7 separate regions of the Homo sapiens genome follow, and all the other regions are linked to region 2. Evidence: promoter capture Hi-C in human tissues and cell types (Jung and others, 2019). All regions are on one chromosome and are shown on one strand. The core of a region is centred on a gene start or on the middle of the fragment in contact, and the rest is flanking DNA. Distances in the headings are between cores, read along the strand shown.

Region 1 (2,851 bases), core at 159-2,658, 240 kb after region 2:
TTCCATGGTGTATATGCACCACATTTTCTTTATCCAGACTGCTATCGACGGGCATTTAGGTTGATTCCATGTCTTTGCTAAATACCAGACCTATGGCTTTTTAACAAAAAAAAATTTTCTATGTTCTTCAGGGCTGAATTACATGCCTTCAGATATCAGATCTCTACATGGCTTTCTCTTCCTATATTTGAGGTCTCTGTTCAAATATAAGAGAAATCTTTCATGACAAAAACTTATTCTGTGACAGCCCCTCCTTTCATCTCTTTATTTCTTTACCCTGCCCTATTGTTCTTAAAAGTGTCTCTCGCTATATATTGGGGGTTTGCTATGCCCTCGTAGCCCATTATAATATCATCTTTGTGAGATCAAGGTCTTTGTTCACTGCTGTATATTTCACATCTAGGACCCTTGGCTGGCACAGAGTAGACCCTTCAACAATCATATGTTGAATGAATGGTTCAGGTGATAAATAATGAGGCCCTGATCCACATGGTGTATCTATCAACTATTCACTGAGTCATTAAAGTAGTCATTCTGCAAATCTTTGGGTTCCTTCCAAATGCTTGTAGCAACTTAGTAGGTGTTGGGGATGGAGCAGGTAACGAAACTCCACATTAGACAAGTGTAATGAATATAAGTAAGTAAATACCTAGAAGGATGTTAGAGAGGAATAAGGGCTTAGAGAAAAGAAGTAAGCAGAGATGAGGGATAGGAAGTGTTGGGGTGCAGTTAGGAGACCGAAATTATCTACAGGATGGCTAGAGAGAGACTCTGAGGTGGTGACATTTGAATAAAGAAGAAAGAGTTTCTTAGTGTGGCTCTCCTAATAGTCTCTCTGGCCCTAGCCTCCTCCCCCTCAAGCCTCCTCCCGTTTGAGAGGGTAATCTGTTTCTAACATGAAAGGAATCTTTTTACTCTCCTTTCCAGAAGTCCTTCAGTGTTCTCCTGCTGACTTGCAGATAATTTTGTGACTTGAACGTCATCATGGTTTGAATTCTGCCTTCCTGCCCATCTCTTTCTGCCTGTTATTTGTCTTCACATCATGACATTTGTTCTCTGGGAGTTTTATAGTGATTTGGATTCTCTGGCTAATAGAGCTCAGTCACCCTCCAGGGCTCAGATTAAGCTACGTTTGTGTAGAACCCCTGCATTCCACTGTGGGCTTATGAGCCCATTCCTCATGCCGCTAAAGGATGCTGTGCACTACTCTGGCATTTAGCCATGTATAGTGGAATTGCCAGCTTCCTCATCACTAGACTGTGAGCATCTTGAGGCTGGGGAATTGCATCTCTTTTAGTAAGGTTCCCACAAGTCTTCACTGAGTTAATAAACTCATCTATTTAATGAAGTAGTAATAAATTCACCTGTCTAGTGCTAATTATGCAGGCAGTAAAATAGTGTTCATTCTCAGTATTTTAAGGGACACATTCTGTGGGTTCTGTAACAGTGACTCATGTCGTCGCTGACTTTGAAGAGCAGAGAGTACTTTCCTAAGATGGTATTTAACAAAATCCAGAGATGCTTTTCCTTCCAAAGATGACTCTGATCTTGCCCAAGGACAGCAAATATGGTGAAAGACCTAGAGGAAAAATTTGGAAATAAAACCCTTGCTCTCCAAATCTTCCCAACTGGAGTCAGTCTCAGGGAGACTTAGACCAACTAGTCTAGTCTTCCTATATGCCTCTCCATGTCTGATGGTGGGTTCAGTCATTTCTGCTGGGCAATTACTTTGTACAGGAACTGTTTTAGGTACTTGGGATATAAAGCTGAATAAACATTCATCACAAGACAGATGGTTGATTTGCTATTATCTCTTTTTTTTCCCGAGGCGATGGAAATATATCCCCTGCAAAACATTCTTACTGAGCAGAGGTTGCTGGGCAAATATAGAGTTAGAACAAAGTGAATTACAAATTCTAAAAGAGTATTTCAGGCTGGGTGTGGTGGCTTACGCCTATAATCCCAGCACTTTGGGAGGCCAAGGCGGGTGGATCACTTGAGGTCAGGAGGTCGAGACCAGCCTGGCCAAAATAGTGAAACCTCATCTGTACTAAAAAAACAAAAGAAACAAAAAAAATTAGCCAGGAATGGTGGCGGGTGCCCATAATCCAGCTACTGGGGAGGCTGAGGCAGGATAATCTTTTGAACCCGGAAGGCTGAGGTTGCAGTAAGCTGAGATCATTCCACTGCACTCCAGCCTGGGCCACAGCGCAAGACTCCATTTCAGAAAAATAAATAAATAAGTATTTCTTCTAAGATTGGAAGGTTTTATGTTTCCCTTTTCAATAGTAAGGGTTCTTCTATCTGAAGTAAGAGAACTAAGAATAATTTACTAATAAATCAAGCAGTAATTAACTAATACTAAGCTTTTAATCTGGGTATTTTACTCGTTTCCACCCTCCATAGAATCAGAATCATACCCTGAGAGCTACAAGAACTCCATTTTTCACTGTGCAGAGGCTCTCTGCTGAAGGGTCAAGTGGAATCTGGAATCCAGCCCATGTTTCCCCATCATCAAGCCATGTGAAGCTGCAGACTCCGTGAGTGCCTTAGTCCATTTGTGCTGCTATAACAAACAATACCATAGGCTGGGTGGCTTAAACAACAAACCTTTATAACTCACAGTCCTGGAGACTGGGAAGTCCATGATCAAGTCACTGGCAAATCCAATGTCTAATGAGGCCACTCTTACTGGTTCGCAGAAGCTGTTGTCTTGTATCTTCCTGGGAGGAAGAGAGAAAGAGCTAGGTTACTTGCTTTTCTTACAAGGAAAGCAATCCCATTATGGAGGCTTCACCCTCATGACCTAATTACCTCCTAAAGGCCCCACCTCCCAATAACATCACATTAG
Region 2 (2,992 bases), core at 198-2,697:
AAACTAATAATTGAGAAAACTATTTTTAAAAACTCTTTTCTTTTTTTGAGACAGAGTCTTGCTCAGTTGCCGAGGCTGGAGTGCACCGGTGTGATCTCAGCTTACTGCAGCCTCGCCTCCTGGGTTCAAGCGATTCTCCTGCCCCAGCTTCCCAAACTCCTGGGATTACAGGTGTTGGCCACCACGCCTGGCTAATTTTTGTATTTTTAGTAGAGATGGGGTTTCGCCATGTTGGCCAGACTGGTCTCAAACTCCTGGCCTCAAGTGATCTGCCCGCCTCAGACTCCCAAAGTGCTGGGATTACAGGCGTCAGCCACTGTGCCCAGCCACTATTTTTTAAAAGTCATAGAATAGCCCAGACCTTGAGCAAAGTCCCCACAGTGAAGTCCCAACCTATTTTCACATGATACTAGCCAGCTGCCTATGGCTCATGCAGAACATACCAAAGAAGACTCAGGTCTAGACTCAGACTGCCTCGGTTTCAATGCTAGCTCTGCCTCCTACTAGCTAGGTGGCTATGAGCAAACAAGTTATGTTCTTATGTCTCAGTCTCCTCGGAAAAAGAGTATCACTTCACAGAGCCACTGTATAGTGGAAAGGTGTTCATTTGTATAAACCCCTTAGAATGGAACTTAGCAACTAACGCTAAATTATAATCACTTCTCATGCCCAAATACATGACCCCACACATTCTCTGATTTATGTGAATAAAACAAGAATAACAACAAGTCTTACTCACATGGGGTTCTGCTGCCTCCTCCTCTGTGCAGTGCTTTTTGAGAAGTCAGGGCTGGGGAAGAAAAACAGGCTATGAAGTAACCAGGATTGTGTCTTCATCCCGGATACATCACAGTGGCATCTCCCAGGACCAGTTAGAAGCAACCCTCTCCTTCCTCAAAAGAGGTCAGGGACAATCCAGCTTCATGGACTCACAGAATTTCGCCACAGAACGGGAGTTTCTAGGAAAATTACAGTAGTATTGGTAATTCACGTGCCAGGCAGTTTTACACTTTTTGTATTACCTCGTTTTCTCTCAAAACATTCTATTAGGAAGTTTTTGCTTTTATTTTCCTTCAGAACAGCAAACGAAGGCACGGGGATTAACTAACTCGCTCAATGTGATACTGTATGAAGTGGTAGGGCTGGCTCATTAGGTGGGGGAGTCACAATGAGGGAGCGAACAGCCCGAGAGACCTTCAAACCCGACGAAGCATCACCCCAGCCGCCCGAAGCCAGTACGCCCCCAATTCTAACAAGCTCCGCCCAGGGAAACGCAAAACAGCATCCTGGCCCCTCAAACCTCCGCTCTTAGCCGCTACTCCTTTTTTTCCCCAAACAAAAGACCGCTAGCTGCTGACCACAAGTGCATTTCGGGGAAGTTTGAAAGGTTCCTGAGAAGCTGACCTGAATCACCAAAGCCAGGGAAAAGATGGCTGCTACGTCGTCTTCCTGGGCGGAAGTGCCTGCGAGTATCAGGAGGACCTGGACTACGCTTCCCAGAATTCCACAGCACTGCCTTCCTCGAGCCGGAAGTGCCTACAACTACCTAGAACGATTGGACCTACAGTTCCCAGGATTCCGCAGGGGAAACATTTACAGCCTTACTGCAGCTGAGCTATGCGCGACTACACGGAACTCCGGACTACATATCACAGAATGCTGGAGTTGGGGGAAAAACAGAACAGTACCGCCCTCCTGGACTACACTTCCGGAATGTCCAAGCCTTCTGATGTGGAAGTGTCCAACTACCTTGAGCTCCTGGTTTTCATTTCCCAGAATCCCTCACTTCTCTTTAGGTATTATTATGGTCTGAGTGTTTATGGCCCCCACCAAATTCGTATGTTTAAATCCTAACTCCCAAGAAGATATTAGGAGGTGGAACCTATGGGACGTGATCAGATCAAGAGGGCAATGCCCTCATGAATAGGATTAATGCTCTCTTATAAGTGGCCTGAGGGAGCTCCTTTGCCTCTTTAGTTATGTGAGGACACAGCCAGAAGGACCATGTATGACTTAGAAAGCGGGACCTCACCAGACACTGAATCTGCTGGCACCCGATCTGGGGCTTATGTGCCAGCAATTTCACTCCTAAGTAAATACCCAGGAGAACTGAAAGATATCCACACAAAAACTTGTTCTAAAAAAGTTCATAGCAGCATTAGTCATAATAGTCAAAAAGTGGAGAAGACCCAATGTCCATCAGCTGATGAGTGGATAAACAAAATGTGGTCTAGCCATATAATGCAATATTATTTAGTAATGTGAATGAACAAAATATTGATTCATGTTATAACATAGATGAACTCTGAAGACATTATGTCCAATGAAAGAAGCCAGACACAAGATACCATATATGGTATGATTCCATTTATATCAAATGTGCAGAATAGGCAAGTCCATAGAGACAGAAAGTAAATTAGTTGTCTCCAAGGCTGGGGAGATGTAGTTGGGAATGGGGAGTGACTGTCAATATGTAGGGTTTTTTTTTTCTTACTTTTTTAGAGACAGCGTCTTGTTATGTTTCCCAGAATGGAGTACAGTGGCTATTCACAGGCATGATCATAGCACACTGCAGCCTTAAATTCTTGGGCTCAAGTGATCCTCCCGCCTCAGCCCCCTGGGTAGTTGAGACTACAGGCATGCACCACCACACCCAGCTCATGTAGGGGATTTCTTTTGGGAGCAGATGAAAGAGTTCTAGGATTAGATAGTGGTAATCATTACATAATATTGTGGATCTTTTCAAAGATAGAAAAATGTTATGTGACAATATCCCCTAAAGCGTTAAAATGTAGCTAAACTCAAAGCTAAGACAGGGAAATCCCAACGGCCAAAGATGAACAGGCAAGTTAGGCCCACAGATGAAAAAACTGAATGATCCCACAAGGGCTGGGCATACTAGGTAAGAGCTAAGGAATTAATCTTGTGTGTGAATGGGAGTTAGAGTAGCCATGCATTTTGGGAGACATGAACTATACAATATTACAAATGA
Region 3 (2,883 bases), core at 261-2,760, 190 kb before region 2:
AAACATTTCCTTGGAAAGGAGTTGTTAAATAAAGAATCAAATAGTCTCATCTCTTAATAGTGTCTTTTTTTTTTTCTTTTGAGACGGAGTCTCGCTCTGTTGCCCAGGCTGGAGTGCAGTGGTGCGATCTCGGCTCACTGCAAGCTCCGCCTCCCGGGTTCACGCCATTCTCCTGCCTCAGCCTCCCGAGTAGCTGGGACTACAGGTGCCCGCCACCACGCCCGGCTAATTTTTTGTATTTTTTGTAGAGACGGGGTTTCACCATGTTAGCCAGGATGGTCTCGATCTCCTGACCCCGTGAGCATTTTCACAGATTGGTCGTTATGTCTTTTTATTTTCCTCTTCCTTTTCTGGATTGAGTCAACCCATTCACCGTCCTCCCTGAATCATCCTGTCCTCCATAAGACAACTTACAATATTTGCTATATCAAGAGCAGGGTGAAAATAGGTGATAGATTTTTCTCAAAGAAGAAAAAAATTTCGAGGTTTTACAAGAGACTTATCCCTTCCCATAATAATAACATTTTGTCTGTATCAGTACAGCCCTTCTATTTGCCTTATGACTTGCATTTCATCATCAGTAGTTAAAGCAGAGGAAACGTGGGAACCATTTACTGTTTCTGCTTATGGCCTCATCAACGGTTGCATCTGTTTTTTTGTGGATTCTTGGCATCCACGTTCTTGTGGATCTTGCAACAAACACATTATGGTAGGTAGCAGCAGCACTATCAGTTTCAGACGCGTCCACACCAAAATGGAATAAAAAGGTAATCGAGTCAAAGAAAGGTTGAGATCCTGTATTCCTTAAATTCGGTGTCCAGTACAAATCAGCCCAATTTCCTTTAAGTACCTGCATTTTTAGCGCACACATCGCTTCCATTCTGTAATTCTTTTCTTTTTTCTTCCTGTATTGCAAGCTTCTCTGTTCTCTCCTTTATGGGATATTTTCTTGGTAAGTAGGTAGGTAGGTAGGTAAAGTCCGCTTTGGTTGAGTTTATTTGGGTTTGTGTCGCGTTTGAAGAAAAATAAATTCAAACTCTAGGGGGAAGGCAGTAGAACTGGACTAGCAGTATAAAATTGGATGGCTAACCAAAAGAGAATAGTGACTATACAAATACTGACTATCCAAACGAGAAAGAGACGACTTAAGGGAAAGTGCTACCCTGCAAGAAATTCCGGGAATTGTCCAGAAGATCCACAGGGTCAGAGACACACGCGCCAGGAAAGGCGCCTTTCATGCACGGTCCGCTGGGTAAAACAGAGAAATATATATACGAGCTCTCTGTCTTTGGAAGCATTTCGGTTCCAGGAAGGGGGAGTTAAGGAATTCCTTTGGGACCGGCACATGTGAAATATCATCCAGGCTCTCAGCTTGGCACCCGGTACTTGCGTCCTAGGCAGGCAGATAAGTGGAGAGTTTTTCTAGGAATTCTGGGAAATGTAGTTTGGGAGCCCCGTGTAGTCGGGTAACTTCCGCTCTAGGAGGCTGAGGCCGTCTCCCTGATCCCGTCGGGAATTCTGGGAAGCGTAGTCCAGGAGGTCTCGGTAGGCAGAGCCACTTCCGCCCCAGGTACGCTAGGCCGCGGCCTTCGTTCCTCCCAGAAAGGTGAGCGCTCCCCGCCCTGCTTCCTGCTCCTTCCGTCCATACTGATGTTCGTTTTGTTGGGGTCCAGTAGCAACCGGGCAGTAGCTCTAGGGGAGGATAATCCACTTGCGGCGAAGGGCGGGATTTGTGTTATCTTTGAATGAGCCTTCTCCAGTGTGGGGCAGCTGGCGCATCCCCACTTAGCGCCGGGGGTCCAAGATCCTACATCGCAGGGACTGGGGATCTCCTGGGTTCTGTACTTCCCCAGCCCTTTCCCCTGACCATCAACCAGCTCTGCCACTTCCTAGCAGTATAATAACAGGCGAGTATCTTAATCTCTCTGCCTATGTTTCTTTTTCTTTAAAATGGTACTAGTATCTATCTAATGGAGTTCTTTTGAGAGTTAAATAAAAAGACTTGGAACAGAGCCTGACAGGTGGTAGAAGATGGGTCTCTTGTTATTAGCACTTTTTAATTTTCTGAGAAGGACTCAGTTCCCTGAAAGCTTCTGTGAACCCAGGATGGGGTCAGAGCTCCAGCTGCAGAGTATCCCTGGCCCTTTTCTGATCACTGAGAGATTTTTCTTTAGGACAGGATCACTCCTGGCTGTCTGGGTAGTCCATTGTAATTCATGCAGGAGTTCTGATTTCCCCCATCCTCCTTTCCTTCTTTAGCCTTGACTTCTTGAAAAAGGCTGCAGGGAGAAGGAGGGAATGACCCTTTGGCACTTGGCAGCGGAGTCTCACCTGAGTAGTACTTATCATCCTTTCTTTTCAGGGAAGACGATATTTCCATCATTCACTGGCAAATTCTGCTCGAAGATGCGCTGATATTTGTTCAATAAATGCAGAAACGGATGAGGGAGTACTTGGGCATGAGTAATAAAGATAGTATTTAAACATTTAGTGCTGATCATTCTAAGAGTTTGATATGAATTAACATCTTTAATCCTCACAAGAGCCCTTTGAGCCTGGGTTGGGTACCACCATTCCCATTTTAAAGATAAGCAAACAGACATAGAGCATAGGTGGTTTATCTTTAGGTCACCCAGGTGGTAAGAGCCTGAGCTGGGATTTGAATTCAAATAGTTTCCATCCATTGCCTTAGTTCTTGATGTGTTTAGTATCAGCTTCAGAACACATATTTGGATTTTACTAGAGGACCGTGAAAGCAAGGTTAATAAGCTTTGAATTTTTGATTTTTTAAAATTATCTGTAATTTAATTTTATTTGAAATATTTATAGTTCATATTCTGATTATATAAATTATTGCATATTGTAAAAGATTAAGAAAGTATA
Region 4 (2,929 bases), core at 54-2,553, 160 kb before region 2:
TAAGTGTAAAATAATTTTTATTTTTATTACTCCAAAATATAATTCAGTAAAGCAAAATTAGGAATGAGGTTTTATGAATTTAGAGGACATACAAAAATAAGATGTTTCGTAAGAACACTGCAAAACAGGGAAGACAGAAATTAGAAATATACTAGCAGAAATTAGAGGTATATGGTTGTACTCTATACATGAATTGGCATAATATGATTTGAAGATAGACTGTGAAAAAATACAGGAATATATTTTAAGCCCTAGAGTAACCATTTAAGAATTTTTTAAAGTACATCTCATAAGTCAGTAGTAGAAATTAAATTCTGGTTCCAAAAATAGCAATGTAGAAGCAAGCTGGCTTCACTCCTTTCAATAGAAAACTAAAGACAAATATACAGCACCAAGATTATCACCAGCAATATCCCAGAACTCAAATAGAAGGAGACAGTTCCTGAGGACACAAATAAGTGGAAAAAACTGAGCAGATGATAAGAGAAGTGGACTTTCCTATCCACAGTGCCCTTCCCCCTAATCTGCCTGGTGCCAAGACTGTGGAAAATTTTCCCGTCTCACGGTTTCTATACTGGAAAAAGTTAATCAAGGTGGACAACCAGCCTCCTCCCCATCTTGGGTTTCCTGGCAGGAGACTTGTCCCTGACTCAACCCACAGAAAGCATCAGGAGTAACTGAAGAGAGAAATATCCCTGAGGACAGCCAGAGACAAAGGAGGGAGGTGGGAATACTGTCCCCGTCATGGAAACTCTACTCTGCAACTCAGCCAAAGGAGACAACAATCAGAGTGGCTGTTCAGCATCACTATACTGTAGGTCCCCAATCATGAACCACTAGCCAGCTTTCTTACAACTAGGATATCCCCTATGGGACCTACCCCTTTTGGGATGGGTGGCACTATGATTATTTACTAGAACTGAGGCAAACCTGGAGTTAATAGGCTATCTAGTACCAAAAAGGAGTCAGTAACCTAACGGGAAAGAAGAAAATCAACAGGTAAAATATAAAGAATCTCTAGGGAGCCATATCCAATGAAAAACAAAACCAGCCAGACAGAGAATAGTGGAATGTATAATCATTCGATGCAAAGACAGACACACATCCATAAGCAACAACAGCAAACGGGGAGCCATGGCATCCCACAAATGGACAAAGCAAGGAACCAGTGACTGATCCTAACAGGAAGACGATATGTGAACTCTCTGACCAAGACTTCATAAGAGCTGTTTTAAGGAAACTCAGTGATCTCCAAGATAACACAGAAAAGCAATTCAGAAATGTATCAGAGAACCTGAACAGAGAATAAAATAATTTTTTAAAATCAAACAGAAATCTTGGAACTGAGAAATATGTTTGCTGCACTGAAATATCCATTAGAGGCTCTCAACAGCAGAATGTATCAAGCAGAAGAAAGAATCAGTGAGCTCCAAGACAGGCTATTTGTGAATACACAGTCAGAAGAGAACAGAGAAAGAAAAAGAGCAAATATTGACTGAAAGAGATAGAAAATATCTCAAATGACCAAAACTAAGAATTACTGCTGTTCAGGAGGGAGTTGAGCAAGAGCAAGGAGTAGAAAGTATATTCAACAAAATAACAGAAAACTTTCCAAAATTTAAGAAAGAGATGAATATCCAGGTACAGGGAAATCATAGAACAGCAAACAGATTTGACCCAACTAAGACTACCCCAAAGCATATAATAAACTCTCATAGGTCAAGGAGAAAGAATTATAAAAGCAGCAAAAAAAAAAAAAAAAAAAAAAAAAAACAAGCAAATGACATATAAAGGAGCTCCAATTCATCTGGCAAAAGACTTCTTAACAGAAGCCATATAGGCCAGGAGGAAGTGCAGAGACATTTTCAAAGTGCTGAAATTAAAAAAAAAAAAAAACTATCATCCAAGAATACTGTATCTAGCAAAGTTATCCTTCAAATATGAAGGAGAGATAAAGTCTTTCCAAGATAAACAAAAGATGAGAGAATTTACCACAACAGACTTCTAAGAAAGGTTCAAGGGAGTTTCCAATGTGAAAGAAAAAGCTACTAATGTGCAAAATGAAAGCTTCTGAAACTGTAAAACCCAGTGGTAAAGTTAAGTACACAGACAAACCAAGAATAGTATTGTAATTGTGATGTGCAATCCACTCATAACTAGTATGTAGCCCAAAAGAAATCTATCAAAAAGAATAATAGCAAGAGCAATTTGTTAAGAAATAGGTAATATAAAAATATGTACATTGAGACAACCAAAAATCAAAAGGTGGGACGGATGGGAGTTAAGTGTAGAAGTGTTTCTTCTTTTCATTTTTCTTTGTTTCTATTACTTGTAATCTAAGATAAGTTGTCATCTCTTTAAAATAACCTGTTATATCTATAAAATGTATTTTGTAAGCTTTATGGTAAACACAATACAAAAACCTATAATAGATTCACTAAAAGTAAAAAGCAACAAATTAAAACATACTGTTAACCACAAAGGAAGACAGAAAAATGAAGACTCTTAAATATTTAAGCAAAAAAAGAAGACAGTAAGAAAGGAAGAAAGAAAGGGAGGAGTTACAAAACAACCAGAAAACAAGCAACAAATGGCAGTAGTAAGTCCTTACTAATCAATAATAACACTGAATGTAAATTGACTCATCCTCTGATTAAAAGACATAAAGTGGCTGAATGGATAGAGAAACAAGACCCAACTATATGCTGCCTGCAAGAAACCCACTTCACCTGTAAAGACACACATAGTCTAAAAGTGAAGGGGTGGAAAAAGACATAGCTTGCAACAGGCAACGAAAAAAGAGCAGGAGTAGCTATACTTGTATAAGATACAATATAGACTACAAATCAAAGACTGTAAAAAAGACAAATAAGGTCACTATAAAATGATTAATGGGTCAATTCAGCAAGATGATATAACCATTATAAAT
Region 5 (2,916 bases), core at 415-2,914, 180 kb after region 2:
CCCACCTCCTATTACCATCACATTGAGGGTAAAAATTACAATATATGGATTTTGGTGGGCCACAAACATTAAGACCATTGCATACGCATCATGCAGTGTCAGAGTTACTAATTCATATCATTGTAAAAAACAATGCAAAAGTAGAGTTCAACATTTTTTATAGTTCTTTTTGTCTTTAGACTGAGGATATATAGTCAAACACTGTACTGTTTAATAAGTTGCTTAAATTACTTCTTGCTGTCACCTTTAGACTGTTTATGTTATTGATTTGAAATACATTTAGGTTAATTTGTTATTCTATGATTTTCACTTTCCTAGTTTATCTACAAAGAAATCTCATTCTTGATTTTATATTATTGGGTATGTCAGTCATCAACATGTTCCCATGAGTCAATGCTCTACCACATATTATTCTCAGAGAAGTGCCACTCCCCTCCTTCCTACCCCTAAACCAATTCCACAGTGTTGCCACCTAACACCTTTATGTAACTAATTTTATTATTTTCATTACCACTTTTTTTTAACAGAATAGATGTGTTTCTTATTTTTCCTTTTTACTTAAATGTTAGGATAGTACACTTCTAATTCTTCTATATTCACATAATAACATCTTGGAAATCATGTCATATGGAGTAATTTATTTTTAAAACTGCATAAATTCCATTGAGTGGTTTATATAACAGTGCTGCAATTTATGGACATTTCAGTGACTTCCAATATTTTATTATTACAAATGATGCTGTTATAAATACACTTGTACATTTGTATATTATCCCTGTTGAAGATACATCAGAAGAGTACATCCCAGAAAGCAGGATTGAAAAGTGAAGATATTAATAGAAATTTTGTTGCATATTGTCAAGTTGCCTTAATTTTTTGGTACCATTTCCATTTGCAGAAGTAATGTATAAATATACTCTTGCCTTGAAACTAGCTAACAAAATGTGTTATTACAACATTTTTAAAGTTTTGCCAATCAAATGGTAAGAAGTGTATTTAAATTTAGTTTTAATTTATATTTCTTGTTTTTTAAATAACATAGAACATTTTTGCATATTTCCTGTGTCAATATTATTTTTCTTTTTGTAAATTGTTCAAATCTATTACCCATTTTTATGTTGAGTTTTTGGTCTGTTCGCCTCAATTTTTTTTTTTAGAACAAGGTCTTGCTATGTTGCCAAGGCTTGTCTTGAAGTCCTGGGCTCAAGCGATTCTCCCACCTCAGCCTTGTAAAGTGCTGATTTACTAACTAGGGCCAGCCAAAGGCTCAACCATCACTATCTTTCATTAACATTTTAATCACTTTTGGCTTTTCTGGGTCATAGGGTCCTGATGGCAGAGAAACTTACATAGCAGCTGGGACACATTGCACAGACTTATCTTGGATGAGTCAAAATGTTTTCAGGTCACACAAAATAGGCAAAGTAGCACGCCTCAATGAGGAATAAGTAGCATACAATAGCCCCAGTGGTCCACTAGGCGTTGTGACGCTATTTTTTGATCGTAGGAAGGGCTATATTCTACTTGCCCTACACCCAGAAGGGATAGCTCAATAGGCCTACATCAGTGAACTTGTGGAAATTTCACCAAGGTGAAAGGCCCATGAATTATTATAAGATTTATTTCTTCCCTCTGGTATGTATGTATCTTACAAATATGCCTAGATTCCTTCCTGCTTCCTTCTCACCAGGCCCAATCATCAAAATATAAACGTGCCATTTGATAATAGGAGTTAGTCGTTGCCAAGATGTTTGAATATTTCTCCTTTTGAGTACATAGTCACACGGGTTAATGGCTGTAGGGCCTTGTGAAGCACTCTGCAACGTACCAGCGTCCATCCTAATACAGAACTGACCTCCCGTTTATTGAAGCAATTGTGGATTTGTAAACTGGACTTGTCTTAGAATTGATTTGGGAGATGTGATTCTGTTAGGTAATTCCAGTTGGATTTCTGTTTACTTGCAAGAGAATCCTCCTGCCTATACAAATAAAGTAACAGTGTAATAGATTTCCTGTCAAGTTATTTACTATGAATGCCAAGATCAACAACACAAGGTTAAGAAGCCATGCATAATGACTGACGCTTTCAGGTTATTCTGATTGAGCTGGAATTTGATGCCTTGTCCTCATCTTTTTCTTTCCCACTTTCTGAAGCACAAATCAGAGCAACTAGTAAATACCACTATAGTCCTTCGTTTGACTATTATGTCCGAAACTAACAAATTCATGGTCATCTAGAATCATGCCTTCTATAGGTATATGCTTGGGATTATCCAATATATTTGGCATATATTTATCACCATGTCGTGGCTTTAACAACCAATGCCCTATTTTCCACTGGAAATAAAGTCAATAGTGCCTTTAAACTAAAAAAGATGAGAAATCCAATTTGAGAAAACACAGAATTGATTTAGAAAACTCATTCTTAAGATTCTCTTCCTCTAGAACCACTTCTGGAACAAAATATCTTTTGGTCAGCGTTGAAACGGAGTAACAAAATCAATATGACATATACAAATGATTTATTGCAAGGAACTTTCTTATGCCACTGTGGGACTGGCTAAGCAACTGCAAAAAACATATGGCTATACCCCAGGATGGCTCAGATGGAACACTAACCCACGAGAGGAAGATGCTACTAAAAGGTGCAATTTCTTTTTTCAAAGAAGCTTCAGCTCTACTTTTAAATAATTTCAAGTGATTCATCAGGCCCACTGACATTATCTCACATAATATCCCTACTCAAAGCCAACTGATTATGGGCTAAATATCTACAAAATGCCTTCCATATATATATATATATATATATGTATTACTGTTTGATTAAATAACTAGGGACTGTAGTCTAGGCATGTTGTAATTAAAATTGATACCACACAGATCCTCATCATCAGAAAACTGTTTAAGGAAAAATTA
Region 6 (2,788 bases), core at 1-2,500, 160 kb after region 2:
TGGAATCTAATTTGGAAATTAAAAGGAATGAAGTACCAACCCATGCTACAACATGCACAAACCTTGGAAACATCATAAGAGAAAGAAGCCAGTCACCAAAATCCATGGATTAGATGATTCCATTTATATGAAATGTCCGAATAGGCAAATGTATACATAGAGGAAAAGTAGGTTAGTGGTTGCTCCAGATTTGGGGTGAGAATGAGGTTTAATTGTAAATGGGCACAGAGTCCAACTGAGGGTGAAAAATAACTAAACTGAATTATGATGATGGTTACTCCACTTTACAAAGTTCCTAAAGATCACTGTACTCCTGAAATGAGTGAATGCTTTATGTAAAATATACCTCAATAGAGTTGAAAAAAAATTGCTAATCCACATGTCATTTACCTTCATAAGACTGAATTCTGAGTCCATATTGTTGGGAGATTTATACTTGAACAAACAAATGAATAAATGAAGAGAACTAGAAGTTCATCTTTAGTAGAATGCCCACTAATAATGTACCTTCCAATAAGAAACTTGAGTTTTTTTAAAAAAGGTAACTTTACAGCGGACAAATCTGAAAGGCATCATCTTGGCCAAGTGAACACAGTTGAGATCACCAGTGAAGGGACAAACCACATCATGTGAACCCTGTTATGTTGCAATAAAGAGGAAACCTCATCACTTGTGCAATATCCTTACCAACAATACATAATCTGAAACTAAACATGAAATATATCAAACTCCAAATGAACATCTTTCTCCAAAATAACTTTCCTATTAAAAAAAAAACCACCATGTTTATAAAAGACAAAGACTGTGGAATCTTTCTAGACTAAAGAAACTGTGGAATGTGACAACTAAAGACAATGCATAAACTGGACTTTGAATGGCATTGCAGGTGAAGGGTGGGGTAGGGGACACAGTCATAAGGACTTTATTTTTTTATTTTTTGAGACAGAGTCTCGCTCTGTCACCCATGCTGGAGTGCAGTGGCGCGATCTCAGCTCACTGCAACCTCCGCCTGCTGGGTTCAGGTGATTCTCTTGCCTTAGCCTCCCAAGTAGCAGGGATTACAGGAGCATGCCACCACACCCGGCTTTTAAAAATATTTTTAGTAGAGACAAGGTGTCACCATGTTGGCCAGGCTGGTCTCGAACTCCTGACCTCAGGAGATCCACCCGCCGTTGCCTCCCAAAATGCTGGGATTACAGGCATGAGCCACTGTGCCTGGCATAGGACTTTAAATGAAAAACTGAACAAATTTAAATATGTAACTACAGATTAGATAACAGGATGTTAGGTAATATGCTATTCAACACTATCTAATGAGTAACACTACAACTACTAGTAGTCTTTTAACAGATCTGATATGTAATAGATAACAATATTATTTAATATCTAATATTATCTAGCATGTTATGTGAAACCCTATACCATCCCTTCTTAAATACCTCTTACCAACACACCCCACATTTACCATGGTATGTGGGCTTCCTTGCTGCAGAAAGCCATAATCAGCTGTCTCTGGTTAGTTATGTTCCTGGTGGTATTTGGCTGATGGTCATCAACAAAGCAACCAGGAAAAATGTAAACAATTGGCAAATTTGGATAGAGTATGAGAACTCCTTATACTATTTTTGCAACTTTTCTATAGCTTTTAAATGATATAAAGATGAAAATATTTTATTTTGTTTTTAGTTTTTAATTTTTTTTTTTTTGAGACAGAGTCTCGCTCCCTAGCCCAGGCTGGAGTGCAGTGGCGCGATCTCGCTCACTGCAAGCTCCGCCTCCCGGGCTCACGCCTTTCTCCTGCCTCAGCCTCTGGAGTAGCTGGGACCACAACTGCCTGCCACCATGCCCAGCTAATTTTTTGTATTTTTTTTTTTAGTAGAGATGGGGTTTCACCATGTTGGCCAGGATGGTCTCGATCTCCTGACCTCGTGATCCACCCGCCTCGGCCTCCCAAAGTGCTGGGATTACAGGCGTGAGCCACCGCGCCCAGCAAAAATATTTTAGATATCAGGAAATAGTCATAAGGATAATGGGAATAATAAAATTGAGCATTATATAATATGGCAGTTCACTAGTTTATTCTTTTTTTTTTTTTTTTTTTTGAGTCTCACTCTGTTGCCCAGGCTGGAGTGCAGTGGCGTGATCTTGGCTCACTGCAACCTCCACCTCCCGGGTTTAAGCAATTCTCCTGCCTCAGCCTCTAGAGTAGCTGGGACTACAGGCACGTGCCATCACGCCCGGCTAATATTTGTATTTTTGGTAGAGATGGGGTTTCACCATGTTGGCCAGGCTGGTCTCAAACTACTGACCTCAAGTGATCCACCTGCCTTGGCCTCCCAAAGTGCTGGGATTATAGGCATGAGCCACCACAACCAGCCTCACTAGTTTAGTCTCTATTAGCAATATTTAAAATTTTCTATAGTTAAAAGACATATGGGAAAACACATTAAAATATAACAATTTTTAAAAAAATGTTTATCAACAAATATAGAAGTAGACACAAAGAAAGACAAAAGAAATCAATTAGAAGCTTAACAGTTACTACCTTTACATCTTGGATACATGGGTAATTAAAAAACTTTTTCTACTCTCATTTCTCCTATTTCAGACTTTTCCACAATGATACAGTTCCACAACAGTACGAAATACTTGGAAAACATGAAACAAAATAGTTGAGAAATTTTTAAAAATTCCTAGACGTCCAAGCCCACGAGCCTTGCTCTCAACGTCCTTTCAATCAGGTCCTAACTTGCTTTCCCTACGAGTCCAGCTAGTTCCTCTGCCTCAA
Region 7 (2,883 bases), core at 170-2,669, 200 kb after region 2:
CAAAGGAAGCATCTGGCAAACAAAATGCCCTCAAATGCTTGTTGTTCTCCTTGAGTCTTCCCAAGACAGATAAAAATGTGACAATATGAGTAGTAAGATGGAATTTTAACAGCAAGAGAGGCAAGCCCTACTCACTTTGAATGTGGTCATTTTTCCTTCTACTTCAGGGAATTTGCAGAGTCCTGAATGAAGCAGTTCAAGTGAAGGTGAAATCATGCCTGGAAAGTGCCAGGAAAGGCAGAAAAACAGACAGGAAATGGTAACTAGGAATGCCGACCACCAACATAGACAAGTATTTTCAATTAGCACATGAATGTTCATAGCAGCATTACTCATAACCCCAAACTGCAAACAAGCAAAATGCCCTCCTACGGGTAAATGAATAGACAAATCATGGCATATCCATACAACAGAATTTTATTTGGAAATTCAAAGGAGTGAAGAACTGGCTCATGCTACAACATGTATGAACCTTGGAAACATTATGCTAAGTTAAAGAAGCCAGTCTAAAAACCCCATGGATTGTAAAATTCAATTTTATAAAATATCCAGAATAAGCAAATGTATATATAGAGAAAGTAGGTTAGTGGTTGCTCCAGATTTGAGGTGAGAATGAGGTTTAACTGTACATAAGCACAAGGAGTCCAATTGGGGGGCGAAAATGATCTAAACTGAATTATGATGACGGTCACACCACTGTTCAAAGTTCCTGAAGATTATTAAATCGTACGACTGAAATGGGTAAATTCTATGACATGTAAAATACACCTCAATAAAGTTGGAAATAATAACAGTTAATCTACATGTTATTTAACTGGATTGTGGGTCCATATTGATAGAATATTTATAGTTGAAGAAACTGATTAATAAATCAGGGAGAAGTGGAAGCTAATCTTTACAGGATAATGCCCACTAATAATGTATCTCCCGTAAGAAACGTTTTTATTTTCAAAATTTAATTAAAAAGTAACCTTTCAGTGGAAAAATCTGAAAGATATCATCTTGGCCAAGTGAACAAAGTTGAGATCTCCAATGAAGGGAAAAACAGACATCATTTGGCCCCTGTTATGACACTTCAACACTTCTGTGGTATCCACACCAACAATGCATAATCTGAACCTAAACATGAAATACATAAATCCCAAATGACTATCTTTCTATAAAATACTTTGCCTATATACTTCAAGGATGTCAAGAATAAAAAGACAAAGCCTGTTGAATCTTTCTAGATTAAAGAAGACTACAGAAATGTGACACCTAAAAGCAGTACATAAAATTGGACTTTGGACTGGGGGATGGGGGAAAACAGTTACAAGAACTTTAAAAAGCACAACAAATTTAAATATGGGAGTTTGGATAGAAAAGATGATGGTGTCTAGCCATATCTAATAGGTAACAGAATTAACTAATATTAATAGTCTTTTAATTGATATCTAGTATTTAATAGTGATATTACTTAATATTATATCTAATACTACCTAGCATCTTATATGAAACTCTATAGCCAGCCCTTCCTAAATGCCTCTTACCAAGACACTCCATGATCACCTTGCTATGTGGGGTTCCTTGATGCAGAAAGCTACAATAAGTTGTTTCTCATTATAAGTTTGTTCCCAGTGGTATTTGGCTGATGGGTGTTAACAAAGCAAAATACAAAATGTAAATAATTGGAAAATTTGGGTAAAGAGCATATGAAGAGGCAGGTGCTGTGGCTTGAGCCTGTAATCCCAGCTACTTGGGAGGCTGAGGCAGGAGGATAGCTTGAGTCTAGGAGTTAAAGGCTGCAGCAAGTTAGGATTGTGCTACTGTACTCCAGCCAGGGCTCTTAAAGCTCCAACATAATCCTTGACTCCATGTCCCACATCCTGGTATAAGAGATAGACTCCCAAGGCCTTGGGCAGCCAAGTGATATGACTGAGCAGTGGTCTCAGGACCACTTCTCAGAGGGCAGTGGTCCCCTTACCACAGATCCATTAGGTAGTGCCCTAGTGGGGACTCTGTGGGGAGCCCTCACATTTCTCCTTGGCACTGCCCTGGTAGAGGTTCTCTGTTGGGGCTCCCCCACTGTGGCAGGCTTCTGACTGGGATCCCAGGCTTTCTCATACATCCTTTGAAATCTAGGTAGAAGCTGCCAAGCCTCCTTCATGCTTGCATTCTGAGCATCTGCAGCCTTAACACAATGTGGAAACTACCACAACTATCAAGGCTTGAACCCTCTGGAGCTGCAACCCAGCCTGCGCCTGGGGCACTCTAAGCTGAGGCTGGAGCCAGAGTGGCCGGATTCAGGGCACAATGTCTTGAGGCTGCTCAGGGCAGGGGGTCCCTGGGCCTGGCCCTTGGAACCATTCTTTTCTCCTAGGCCCCTAGGCCTGTGATGGGAGGGACTTTCCTGAAGACTTCTGAAATGTCTTCCAGGTCTTTTTCCCATTGTCTCAGATATTACCACTTGGCTTTCTGTTAGTCATGCAAATCTCTTTTGCGAGTGGTTGCTCCACAGCCGACATGTATTCCTCTCCTAAAAATGCTTTTTCTTTCTCTACTAAATGGCCAGGCTGCAAATTTTCCAAACTTTTATACTCTGCTTACCTTTTAAATATAAATTCCAACTTTAAGTCATTTTTTTGCTCCCATATATAATTGTAGGCTGTTTGAAGCAGTGAGGCAGCCAGGCCACTTCTTGAATGCTTTGCTGCTCAGAAATTTCTTTTGCCAGGTACCCTAAGTTATCACTCTTAAGTTCAAGCTTCCAGAAATCCCTAGGGCATGAACACAAAGCAGCAAAGTTCTTTGCTAGGACATAACATGGGTGACCTTTACTCCAGTTCCCAATAACTTCCTCATTTCCATCTGAGATCTCATCAGCCTGGACTTCATTGTCCATAT

Evidence for each region. Contacts are between HindIII fragments. The study calls those that stand out against the background at their distance.
Region 1: a fragment that was not itself captured here is called in contact with the fragment with the promoter of ZNF226 in region 2 in 1 of the 25 tissues and cell types used here (IMR-90 fibroblasts).
Region 3: a contact is called between a fragment that was not itself captured here and the fragment with the promoter of ZNF226 in region 2, in 3 of the 25 tissues and cell types used here (hippocampus, liver and mesendoderm cells).
Region 4: a contact is called between a fragment that was not itself captured here and the fragment with the promoter of ZNF226 in region 2, in 2 of the 25 tissues and cell types used here (IMR-90 fibroblasts and stomach).
Region 5: a fragment that was not itself captured here is called in contact with the fragment with the promoter of ZNF226 in region 2 in 5 of the 25 tissues and cell types used here (IMR-90 fibroblasts, adrenal gland, small bowel and 2 more).
Region 6: a contact is called between a fragment that was not itself captured here and the fragment with the promoter of ZNF226 in region 2, in 1 of the 25 tissues and cell types used here (aorta).
Region 7: a fragment that was not itself captured here is called in contact with the fragment with the promoter of ZNF226 in region 2 in 8 of the 25 tissues and cell types used here (H1 embryonic stem cells, IMR-90 fibroblasts, adrenal gland and 5 more).

What each region holds. Positions count from the first base shown.
Region 1 is chr19:43,925,014-43,927,864 of GRCh38, reverse strand. It overlaps ZNF45 (zinc finger protein 45), which reads left to right. Exons shown (of 10, transcript NM_003425.4): 4 at 2,407-2,540. ZNF45-AS1 (ZNF45 antisense RNA 1) reads right to left here. Exons shown (of 3, transcript NR_184050.1): 2 at 2,611-2,723; 3 at 1-1,579. Among named protein-coding and RNA genes, the nearest start is that of ZNF45, 8.8 kb to the left of the region's middle. The HindIII fragment of the contact is 3,949 bases long and covers 1-2,851 here.
Region 2 is chr19:44,163,555-44,166,546 of GRCh38, reverse strand. It overlaps ZNF226 (zinc finger protein 226), which reads right to left and starts at 1,447. Exons shown (of 6, transcript NM_001032373.2): 1 at 1,405-1,447; 2 at 740-790. RefSeq lists enhancers at 1,426-1,545, 1,606-1,755. The HindIII fragment of the contact is 21,073 bases long and covers 1-2,992 here.
Region 3 is chr19:44,355,349-44,358,231 of GRCh38, reverse strand. It overlaps ZNF112 (zinc finger protein 112), which reads left to right and starts at 1,552. Exons shown (of 4, transcript NM_013380.4): 1 at 1,552-1,606. RefSeq lists an enhancer at 1,243-1,743. The HindIII fragment of the contact is 3,070 bases long and covers 1-2,883 here.
Region 4 is chr19:44,320,746-44,323,674 of GRCh38, reverse strand. No RefSeq gene overlaps it. Among named protein-coding and RNA genes, the nearest start is that of ZNF235, 17 kb to the right of the region's middle. The HindIII fragment of the contact is 3,118 bases long and covers 1-2,862 here.
Region 5 is chr19:43,979,316-43,982,231 of GRCh38, reverse strand. It overlaps a transcript of ZNF221 not described here. Among named protein-coding and RNA genes, the nearest start is that of ZNF155, 3.4 kb to the left of the region's middle. The HindIII fragment of the contact is 6,705 bases long and covers 1-2,916 here.
Region 6 is chr19:44,004,040-44,006,827 of GRCh38, reverse strand. The region is part of intron 1 of ZNF230 (zinc finger protein 230); the gene reads right to left. Among named protein-coding and RNA genes, the nearest start is that of ZNF230, 2.5 kb to the right of the region's middle. The HindIII fragment of the contact is 3,707 bases long and covers 1-2,788 here.
Region 7 is chr19:43,960,060-43,962,942 of GRCh38, reverse strand. It overlaps ZNF221 (zinc finger protein 221), which reads right to left. Exons shown (of 5, transcript NM_001297588.2): 2 at 136-218. The coding sequence starts at 216. Among named protein-coding and RNA genes, the nearest start is that of ZNF221, 10 kb to the right of the region's middle. The HindIII fragment of the contact is 7,430 bases long and covers 1-2,883 here.